Regions from separate parts of the Homo sapiens genome. Here region 1 is linked to region 2. Evidence: promoter capture Hi-C in human tissues and cell types (Jung and others, 2019). All regions are on one chromosome and are shown on one strand. The core of a region is centred on a gene start or on the middle of the fragment in contact, and the rest is flanking DNA. Distances in the headings are between cores, read along the strand shown. Region 1 overlaps NAV1 (neuron navigator 1). Region 2 holds the start of ELF3 (E74 like ETS transcription factor 3).

Evidence for each region. Contacts are between HindIII fragments. The study calls those that stand out against the background at their distance.
Region 1: a contact is called between a fragment that was not itself captured here and the fragment with the promoter of ELF3 in region 2, in 2 of the 25 tissues and cell types used here (IMR-90 fibroblasts and adrenal gland).

Annotation. Positions count from the first base shown.
Region 1 is chr1:201,821,210-201,825,968 of GRCh38, reverse strand. NAV1 (neuron navigator 1) reads right to left here. Exons shown (of 34, transcript NM_001389617.1): 34 at 1-4,759. The region is part of intron 1 of IPO9-AS1 (IPO9 antisense RNA 1); the gene reads left to right. Among named protein-coding and RNA genes, the nearest start is that of IPO9, 5.6 kb to the left of the region's middle. The HindIII fragment of the contact is 6,508 bases long and covers 1-4,759 here.
Region 2 is chr1:202,008,523-202,013,606 of GRCh38, reverse strand. ELF3 (E74 like ETS transcription factor 3) reads right to left here and starts at 3,020. Exons shown (of 9, transcript NM_004433.5): 1 at 2,901-3,020; 2 at 2,308-2,478; 3 at 1,429-1,650; 4 at 1,171-1,263; 5 at 848-967; 6 at 571-660; 7 at 309-425. The coding sequence starts at 2,470. It overlaps ELF3-AS1 (ELF3 antisense RNA 1), which reads left to right and starts at 3,254. Exons shown (of 2, transcript NR_146472.1): 1 at 3,254-3,807. RefSeq lists enhancers at 1-376, 1,186-2,120, 2,121-3,054, 4,781-5,084. The HindIII fragment of the contact is 15,952 bases long and covers 1-5,084 here.

The DNA of each region.
Region 1 (4,759 bases), core at 1,170-3,669, 190 kb after region 2:
CTTATTTGGCAGGGTGCTGTGGCTCACGCCTGTAATCCCAGCACTTTGGGAGGCTGTGGCAGGTGAATCACCTGAGGTCAGGAGCTCCAGCACAGCCTGGCCAACAAGGCAAAACTCCGTATCTACTAAAAATACAAAAATTAGCTGGGCGTGATGGCGCACGTCTGTAATCCCAGCTACTCAGGAGGCTGAGACAGGAGAATCGCTTGAACCTGGGAGGCGGAGGTTGCAGTGAGCCGAGATCGTGCCACTGCACACCAGCCTGGGTGACAAAGCGAGACTCCTTCTCCAAAACAAACAAACAAACAGAAAACAACAAAAAAAGGATTTTATTCTGTCACCTTGGCTGAGTACTTCTGTATCCAGGTCCTGCTGTGGGGAAAAGAGAGGAGGAGCACAAGGACTGAAGTGCCCAGGTCTGTGTCTTCATTATGCAAGACTCTCCTATGAGCTGAGTGGAGTGTGGATAAGGGGCCTTCCTGGGATACTGGAGCCCTACACTGTTAGCTGCCATACAGAAGGAGGTTCTGGCCTGGTTCTCAGGCCCAGCAGTGCCCTTTATAACTCAAATAAAGGAGAGGGATGTTGCTGGGAGAACACGTTGTCATGGAAATACAAATTAGATTTTTTTTTTTTTTTTTACTTTTTCCATCCTATTACATAATCAGCTCGGAATAGATACAAATAATTCGGCAGAAGAGCAATCTGGAAGAGACCTCCAACTGCTTTTCCTTGTTGAAGCCCCTTTGTGTGCCAGGTAGTAATTTCCAAGGCATAAGGTTTTTCTCTGAAGGTTGTATTCAACTAGGAAAGACACAAACATTCTCCTAACTTCCACCCAAAAGCACACATACCTTTCTTTGTTAAAATCATAAATGGAAAAACAGAAACACAAGGAAGCATGAGAAAGGTGACTTTGAAATTAATGTTAAAGTCTGAATGACAACCTAGAACCTTCTTATTTTGGGCCCCAAAGCCTCTCAGTGTGGGAACTCCAATACTATAAAGGGCTTTCCCTTTAAAACAGTTGAATTTAGTGTGCATCAGAATCACCAGGAGGGCTTATTAAAACGTGGATTGCCGGGTCCTCTCATTAGAGTTTCTGATTCAGCAGATCTGGGATGGGATTGAGAATTTTCGTTTCTAACAAGTTCCCAAAGGCTGCTGATGCTGCTGGTCTTGTGCCATACTTTGCGAACCACTGCTTTAAGGAATGAGAAACCAGGGGATCACTCACTTACTTCCATGACCACCCTTGTCACAGAAAATTCTCCATGGTATAATCATGAAGAAGAATGACCAAACCATCAAACTGGAAGGATCTAGTATACACAGGTTGAATTTTCAACCGTCTTCGTGTCCCTGCAGCTTTGGCATTTTGATAGGTATCCTCCCTTCAAGGCTACATCTTCTGGGTTACTACCACCTTTCCCAGGATCTGTGGCCGGCAGTGCTCACTTCCAGGGCTAGGCTGAGCAGACATGCACCCATGCACCCTGGTGGCCCCATATATCCGTAGTCAGGTTGATTCAGGACTTATTAAAATATAAGGCTGATTGGATTATAAGGGGCAATATCTTCAGGCTTTGGCCTTTGGGGAACAGTGTTCATAAGATCATTTTATTACTATGGCCTTCTCAGTGGAGCCATGAGCCAGAACTTGTGAGTAGTATATCCATCTCTATTAATAAACCCTCTGCAAAAGCCCATTTTTCCATCCCATCACAGGGGTTGGCTTATGAAGTCGGCTTCTTAACTTTAGCTTAGTCAGTGCCAAGGAATAAGGAAAGCAAAAATAAAGTATGATGAGGAACTGCGCTTGGTGATCTGGGTCACTTCAGCACTTATTCCCTGTGTTAAATGTGTGATTAGGACAATTCCCCCGCCCTCTCCAAATAATGGCAATAAAGAGTTCTTAAGGTCTCATGCAGATATCTTCTTGACCTTGATTTGGAGGACTGAGTCCCCTTCAGTCAGGCAAATTTTACCTAAATGCAGGGTTTCTATGTGGATGCCATCCCAAGTGAGGATGTGAGGTGTCTGTGAGAAGCAGCAGGCTACCATTTCTCTCTTCCTACTCTTTTAGAATACTTTAGGAAATAGTTACTCCTCAGACCACTGTAAGGGGTTATCCCTCTGAGTAGTGTGACCCTTGTTTCAGAGAGCTAGAAGTGAAGAGATGGTGAGATTAGGTACACTTAGTCTTGCAAACCAGGAAAACCAGAAGGCAAGACATTAAGAGAGAAAAAGAAGCCCTCTATTTTGTCTTTAGTACTTAAGGAATATGGATAGATCAGTTGGAAAGTTGGCAATTCAAGACTAAAACAGTATACCAACCAATGAACATTTCATTGTAGGGTCTTCCCATGGACTTGTAGCAGATTTGTCTTCCCTGCCAGCCTCTACCTTCCCAATGGTTAGACATGAAAAAGACATGGGTACTTAAGGATTGACACAAAGACAGAGATAAGCACCGTAGAGCTGCCACAAAGCATAGATTTTAAAAAATACTTTGAAGCCTCAGAAGGTAGGAAACAGCAACAGCAAACTGCTCTTGTGTGTGTGAGAGAGGGAGACACACACACACACACACACACACACACACGCAGACATCAGGTCCCACATTAGCCTCCAATGACCTAGTATTTTATTTTTAGTGCCTAGGCAAGGTCTGAGAAACAAATACATTGGACAAAACTTGTTGGTCTTCTTCATCCAGAAATTAAGGGACTCAGCTCAGGAACCTCTCCTGGAGTTGTGGCTCTCCCCATTGGTTGACATTAGATATTGAATTCATGTCATTTCCTAGACAACTGTGGTGAGGGATGGAGTTGGGGGGCTGGAGAGGAAGATAATAGCACAAATTCCAGTATTAGGCTGGATTCTTCTGAAGGTGCCTGGCGGTTGAGAATTTAGCTATGGGACCCAGTGTTTCTTTTCTGAAGGATCCCAGTAGTCTCAACCAAGAAGCAGGACGTAGGTGGGAGAGAATGCTGTAGATTTGCTCCTTGCCATAAATTCTAGGGCAGTGAGTGGGGAGCTCAGGTTTTCTGCTTCAGAGAAGTCTGGATGAGTGTCCCAAGGGGTTATAGCACCATGAGGAGGCTCAGCCTTCTGCAGTTGCCATATAACTGTGATTCCTTCATGAGAATGATCAATCCCCACAGTGAGGGGCCCAGATGTGCAACTGTAAACAGGGTCCCAGGCTCCAGAGGGAAAGCCGAGGCTTCAATACTACCTCACTAGACGGGAACACACTTTCTGGAGGAAAGCAATTGGAGACCTGGCCTAAATGCAGCAGTCAGCTGAGAGTAGAGGGTGGTGGATCCCAGGAAGAGAAATAAAAAGTCATAGCATGAGGCCTCCAGAATCAACCTGCTGAGGATCCAAATAAAATTCATGGTGGTATCCATGGTTACCAGAGAGCCAAGAATCCCTTTGGGGTCGGAGGCAGTTGGAATGAAAGAAGGGGTTCTCCCCTCTCCTTTTTCTCAAGTAGCCAGTAACATCCATGGCAGAAGGCACTGGCTGGGCAGCACCAGAAAATAGAGTGAAGCGCTCAACCATCAGATTAAGATGGCATTAAAAGTCTGAGCCTTGCCATGGAACTGGAGCTTAGGATAGGGTTTAGAAGAGGCCTAGATCCCAAGCAGGCCCATCCAGTCTTCTCTTCCTTCTAAGTTAGAACAGCCAGCTCGGGGGCCTCCTCATTCTGCACAGCAGAGACCTTAAGGCAGTGATTTCAGCACCATCCTTGGACACACAGCCTCTTCCCACCACAGAATTGCATATGTTACAGCTGAGTTGGTTAGGGATCTTCACAGCTCATGGAATTAGCAGCAATAGCAATAATAGTCTCCATCATACAGAACCCTGTCATCCATGGGAGCTTACCACGTGGATGCAGAAGCTTTTGTGAGGGGCAGCCCGGACCATCTTTTGGACTTAATATACCGATATGAAGATTCAGATGCATCTACTCCTCGGTTGGGTGGAAGAGTGATCCAGGTTGGTATGCCTATAGATTCTGATAAAGTCTTGTGCTACTTAGGAATCTGAAGAGCAAACACTTAGGCCGGTGCTCATCACATATCCTTGACCTGCAGAGTCCTGAAGCTTCAGCCTACTAGGCAGCTCAGCCTAGAAGCTGGTCCCGCGGGGCTTTCAGAAATGGCAGGAAGTAGACTTGCCCATTCCTGACAAGCAAGATTCCATAGTCCTTCAGGCTCCATCTTAATTGATCCCAGATCTTCTGCCCCCAATGTATTGTACATCTAATCAAAAGCTTCTTTCTAGCTGGCTCCTTGGGTTTCAGCTACATTTCTTAGATGATCCCGAAGGTCTAGATAACAAGGGGGCGTAGCTGAATGGAGGTTAACATTTCCTGCTGGACTGTAAACTTAAGGGCCCAGGTCTTGTGTGTGTGTGTGTGTGTGTGTGTGTGTGTGTGTGTGTGTGTGTGTCTGTTTTAACCTAATGATTTGTATATAGTGAGTACTCAGTAAGTACTTGTCAAATGAAAGAACAGGGATTGCCAGACCTTCAAGGCAATGGGAAAGGAGCAAATCTGCAAAGGTAGGATCTCTTTGGAAGGCAGGTATTGGCCACCAAGTCAAACTCCTTGAGTCTTATATTCTGATTGGGATGATCTCACATGGATGTTCATCTCTTATATGTGAATACTCATTTGTGAAAAATAGTAAGAGCCAGCTAGGATATTTGGATTCAGTCAGGCACCATCAGAATAGTGCAGTGAAAG
Region 2 (5,084 bases), core at 1,771-4,270:
GCAGGACAGTGGCCAAGTGCAGAGAGAACTGGAGTCAGTGGACAGGACACTGGAGTCAGTGGACAGGACTCTGGTACCATGAGCCTCCCACTGGGAGCCTTATTTCCTCCTCCTCTCCAGGACCACCAAGCCAGGCTCTGCAATTAGGTGGTGACCGATACCATAGAGCCCCCAGCTTGTGCACAGCCTTACCAAAGGCCATGCGGAGGCCAGAGAAAACGGGAGAAGGGATACCTGCAACAACCCGCAGTGCCCCAGGAAGCCGCTCAGCCCGGCGCAGGGAGGACCCACGTGCCCCCGGAGCTCACCGTGCTTGCTCTTCTTGCCCTCGAGACAGTCCCAGTACTCTTTGCTCAGCTTTCGGGGCCGGCCTCGTTTCCGCTTCCCGTGCTTGGGATCCCCCTTCTTGCAGTCACGAAAACCATCTGTGGGGACGGTGGTGGAAGGTCAAGGAGGGGCAAGAGGGGAGTTAGGGAGAGTAGCCCCTCTACAGGAAAAGGCTGCAGGAAGAGCCGGGCCCCCTGTGCATTGCTAAATGGGACGCCCTCTTGGGGACCTCCCTCGACTCACCGCTGGGGAAGAGCTTGCCATCAGTGGGATCCAGGTCCACGTCACTTCCACCGGAGTCTGAGGAGTGGGAGCTCCGAGAAGCACCAGTCCCTGGGGGGCGGGGTCAGAGTAAGTCCCCTGCCGGCCCACCCTCTGCTCAACCACGCTGCTGGCTCTCAGGACACACTTCCCAGCCTGTTCCTGTTCCTGCCAGAAGGCCTGAGTTATGGTGCTGGGAGCCAGAGGGAACAAGGGACACTTCGGGGAAGGGAGGTTGTGGCCCAGAGAGAGCTCTCACCTGCGGTGGAGACGTCAGAGCTGCCAGGGGAGGGGGCTCCTGCGCCACAGCTGCCGGGGTGGTAGGGGCTGGCTTGCTGACCGTCGTCCAGCAGCTCCTGGGCAAAGGGGCTGCCCTGGTCTGGGAAGAGGAGGTGAGAACTCAGAGAGGGCTCAGGGGACCAGACCAGGACAGGTGATGCTGCCCATGGGTCTGATGACCTGCTGCAATTTTTCTAATTGAGGGAGGAAGAAGTCTGGGGAGGGGGTCATCTCTAGCACTCTGTGGAGGGGCAGGGATGGGACAAGACAGGCTGGGGAAGGAAGGAGAAAACGGGTTCTCACCAAAGGGCCCTGGGTCTAGGGCCTCCTGGAAGGCCATGCCATCCTTCTCCAGCAGCTCAATGATCCAACTGAGCTCATCAGAAGAGCTGGAAGCTGACAAGGAAGGAAGGAAGGGTCACACTCCCCTAATCCCTCCCTCAAGGGCTCTCTCTGGCTGTGCAGCTGGCCCAGAGCTCCAGGGCCTGCCTACGGCCACACTGAACTCGACTCAGCTCAACATGTGGAGCTGCTCCCCAGCCTCCAGGGGCCTGGACTCACTGAGGTCTCGCAGCTGGGCATGGAGTTGGTCCCCCAGAGGCCCAAAGACCAGACGCAGCTCCTCAAGGGCACAATTGCAGAGGGTGGCGCCATCCATGTCACATCGTGAGAAGTCAATGGCGCTTGCGTCGTACTTGTTCTTCTCCACTTGGTAGCTGATCCAGTCCAGAACCTGCGTCTTCGACCAGAACTGGGGCTGTTCCCCCAACCAGCTGGCCTTCTCTGCAAGGGCCAGGCAGGGAAACAGGCTCAGCTCAGGCCACCCAGCAGACCTTACAGCCCCATTTTTTTTTTTTTTTTTGAGATGGAGTCTCACTCCTGTCACCTAGGCTGGGGTGCAATGGCACAATCTCGGCTCACAGCAACCTCCACCTCCCAGGTTCAAGCGATACTCCTGCGTCAGCCTCCCCAGTAGCTGGGATTATAGGTGCCCACCACCACGCTGGGATAAATTTTTTTTTGTATTTTTAGTAGAGACGGGGTTTCACCATGTTGGCTAGGCTGGTCTCGAACTCTTGACCTCAGGTGATCCGCTCAGCTCAGCCTCCCAAAGTGCTGGGATTACAGGCGTGAGCCACCACTCCCAGCCCACACAGCCCCATTCCTGGAGCACACTGGGGATTCACACCTCAGCCCTTGGAGCCATCCCAAGAGTAGGGGCAGGAGGTAGCATTCACAACACCCTTGTCCTGGTATCTGACACCTCCCTCTGCCTGTCACAGCCCCACAACCCCCAGCACCTCAGTCACTAAGTCTCAGCCTCTAGCCCTGGAATTTGCCTAGAGACCCTCCTCCCTGCCTATTCCCCCATTTGTCTAACAGGCCCTTAGATGGATCTGTCTCCCACTCCGTGCCCCATCCCACCCCGCTGAGACCCACCTGTACCCTCCAATGACATCTGGGGGTTGCTCAGGGTCAGTACCAAGTCATCGGCCCCAAAGGTGGCAGCAGGGGGAACAGAGGCCAGGGTGGAGTCCTCCGAGCTGTACATCGCACTGAAGTAGTTGCTAAAAATGTTGCTAATCTCACAGGTTGCAGCCATGAGGCTACCTGTGGGTAGGGGGAGAGAGGATGAGGTTGGTGAGGGGACGAGGGTCCTCTCCTTACACTCCCAGCTACTCTGCTTTGCCCAACCCTGGGCAAGAGTAGCCCCCAGGGGCAGGAAGATCAGCAACTCTGCGGACACCGTCTCTTCAAGAAGGGCTCCAAGATCTCAGACCAGGGCAGGACCACAGGAGCCTCCAGCTGGGCTTCCCTCCTCAGATCTCTGGGGCCCTGGAGCCAGACTAGCGGCGTCATGGCCATTCTGCCTTCCCAGAGACAATCTCTCTCTGTTCTTTGACCCTCAGGACACCTACGCTCTTGCTCGGAGATCCTAGACTGGAGTGTGCAGGTTCAGAACTGCAAATCCTCTGGACCCCTCTGCAGTTTCCCAAGAGCTGGGCTAGGGAATGACAGGCGGGGAATCCTACCGGAGTGGCGGAGTCCGGCTGTGGCAGGCAGGCCGGCAGGCGGGAGAGAAATCCAGTTCCGCCAGGTAGCGCTGAGGTATCTGGCCGCTGCGCTCCCCTACCCGGCTCTAAATAGAGCCTGGAGGGAGCTCCTCCCTGAGCTCAGGGCTTTATAGTGTGTCCCCTGCAGTAACCTGAGCTGGTGTCTCATTGGATGGAGGGGATTTCCTGGCCTTTAGACTGGGCTCCTGGCCCCAGGTGATTTGCATATTCAGTGCCACTTGGCCCGGATCTTAGCAGGCAGTGCTGGGAAATCAGGCCCGGCTGGTTTAATGATTGTCAGAGTCTGTCATCCCGCACCCTCTGGGGTTGGGCACGGGGCACTGGCCTGGGCAGGTGGCGGGAACGTTGCTGGGGTGGGCATCTGTGCTTTCGGCTGCCCTCTGGCCCAGGAAATTCCTCCCAGGGGCCAGGCCAGAGATGGGCCAGGCAGGGGGAGGGCAAGTGAGGGAACATGAACCCCTGGCTGACCTGAGTCAGAAAGCTGCTGGCCCCTAAATTCCAGAGATTCAGCAACAAAGAGGCCTAGTAGGGAGAGGAGTTACTAGGTTTAGGGGTTTTTCCCAGAACACCCAGGACTCTGGCCAGGGGCTGGAAGGTGCTCCAGGCTCAATGCTGGGCAATACTCATGGATTAATTGGTGCTGGCTGGGCCTGCCAGCCTAGTCGTGGCCCCAGGGTCCCCACTAAAGGGCTCCTTCTCCAGCGCCCACTCTGTTGGCAAGGTCTTCACTACCATCACCTGCCTGGACTCCATCCAAGCATCAGGGTTGCTGCAGTCGCTCCTGAAGAGACCCGGCTCTGCTTGAAAGTTCTTCCCTCAGCGCCTGCTGGAGCCCTCCCTGCCGGAGTTGCCAGAATCCACACGGGTAAGTTCATCCCTGCTCTCTGGACCCCATCTAATCTCTGGTTCACTCGGCCCAGTTTTCCAGTACCTTCTGCTGCCCTCTAGTGGTCAGAAGCCTGACTACCTGGGTCACGTCATTCAAAGAAGAGGGAATGCATAGTATTAATATATTTACCAAGCACTTTTCAACATATTCTCTCATTTAATCCTCACACCAAAAAAGTCCTGTAAGGAATGCATGGTTATTCCCATTTTATAGACATGAAAGTTGCAGTGTGGAGGGTTCCCTTAGAATGGCTTGCCCAGGCCACACAGAGTTGGTGAAGGGGTGGAGCTGAGATTCACATCCAGGTATGCAGGTGTGTTGTACACAAAACCCTCGCTCTTTCCCTGCACAGGATTCAATGTCTTCGGGCTTCAGAGTCTTCCCATCCAGCTCCATGGCCAGAGCCCTTGCCTTCCCTGTGGGCAGAGTCCCCCATGTCTGTGGTTGTCTCTATGGACTCAGCCCGAAACACAATGGATAGTGTCTTATAGACCCTTCTTGAGACCCTGAATGGGGTAATACAGGTGGTTGAGGCAGGAGACTTGTAGCCAGCATCTGCAACTGTGTGATCTTGGATGAGACCCTTGGAGTCTGTGCTTGTTTCCCCATCTATAAAAAATGAGGTTGTCTGAATTTAATAATCCCTAAGATCTCTTCCAGATCTAGTATTTTGTTTATTTTGTTTTGAGGTGGAGTCTCGCTCTGTCGCCCAGGTTGGAGTGCAGTGGCGTGATCTCTGCTCACTGCAACCTCTGACTCCTGGGTTCAAGCGATTCTCCTGCCTCAGCTTTCCGAGTAGCTGGGATTACAGGCGCCCGCTGCCATGCCCGGCTTTCTGTATTTTTAGTAGAGACGGGGTTTCACCATGTTAGCCAGGATGGACTCGATCTCCTGACCTCATGATCTGCCTGCCTCAGCCTCCCAAAGTGCTGGGATTACAGGCATGAGCTACTGCGCCCAGCCCATATCTAGATTTTTATGCATTTGAAATGTAGGATCCGGTGGCTCACACCTGTAATCACTGCGTCTCAAAAAAAAAAAAACAAAAACAAAAAAATGTAGGATCTGTGTGACCCCCCTCCATTAATGCACAACTTGGGGAGTTCCTGGCCACCCTCAGCCAGGGTGGGTGAAACGGTTACTCAAACAAAAGGTGACTCCACCTTCTACAGATACTTCTTTCTTTAACTCTATAGCCTGAGGACTAAGAAAGTCCTGCGCAGAGAATCTGCTTCTTACCTTACCTTCTTCCT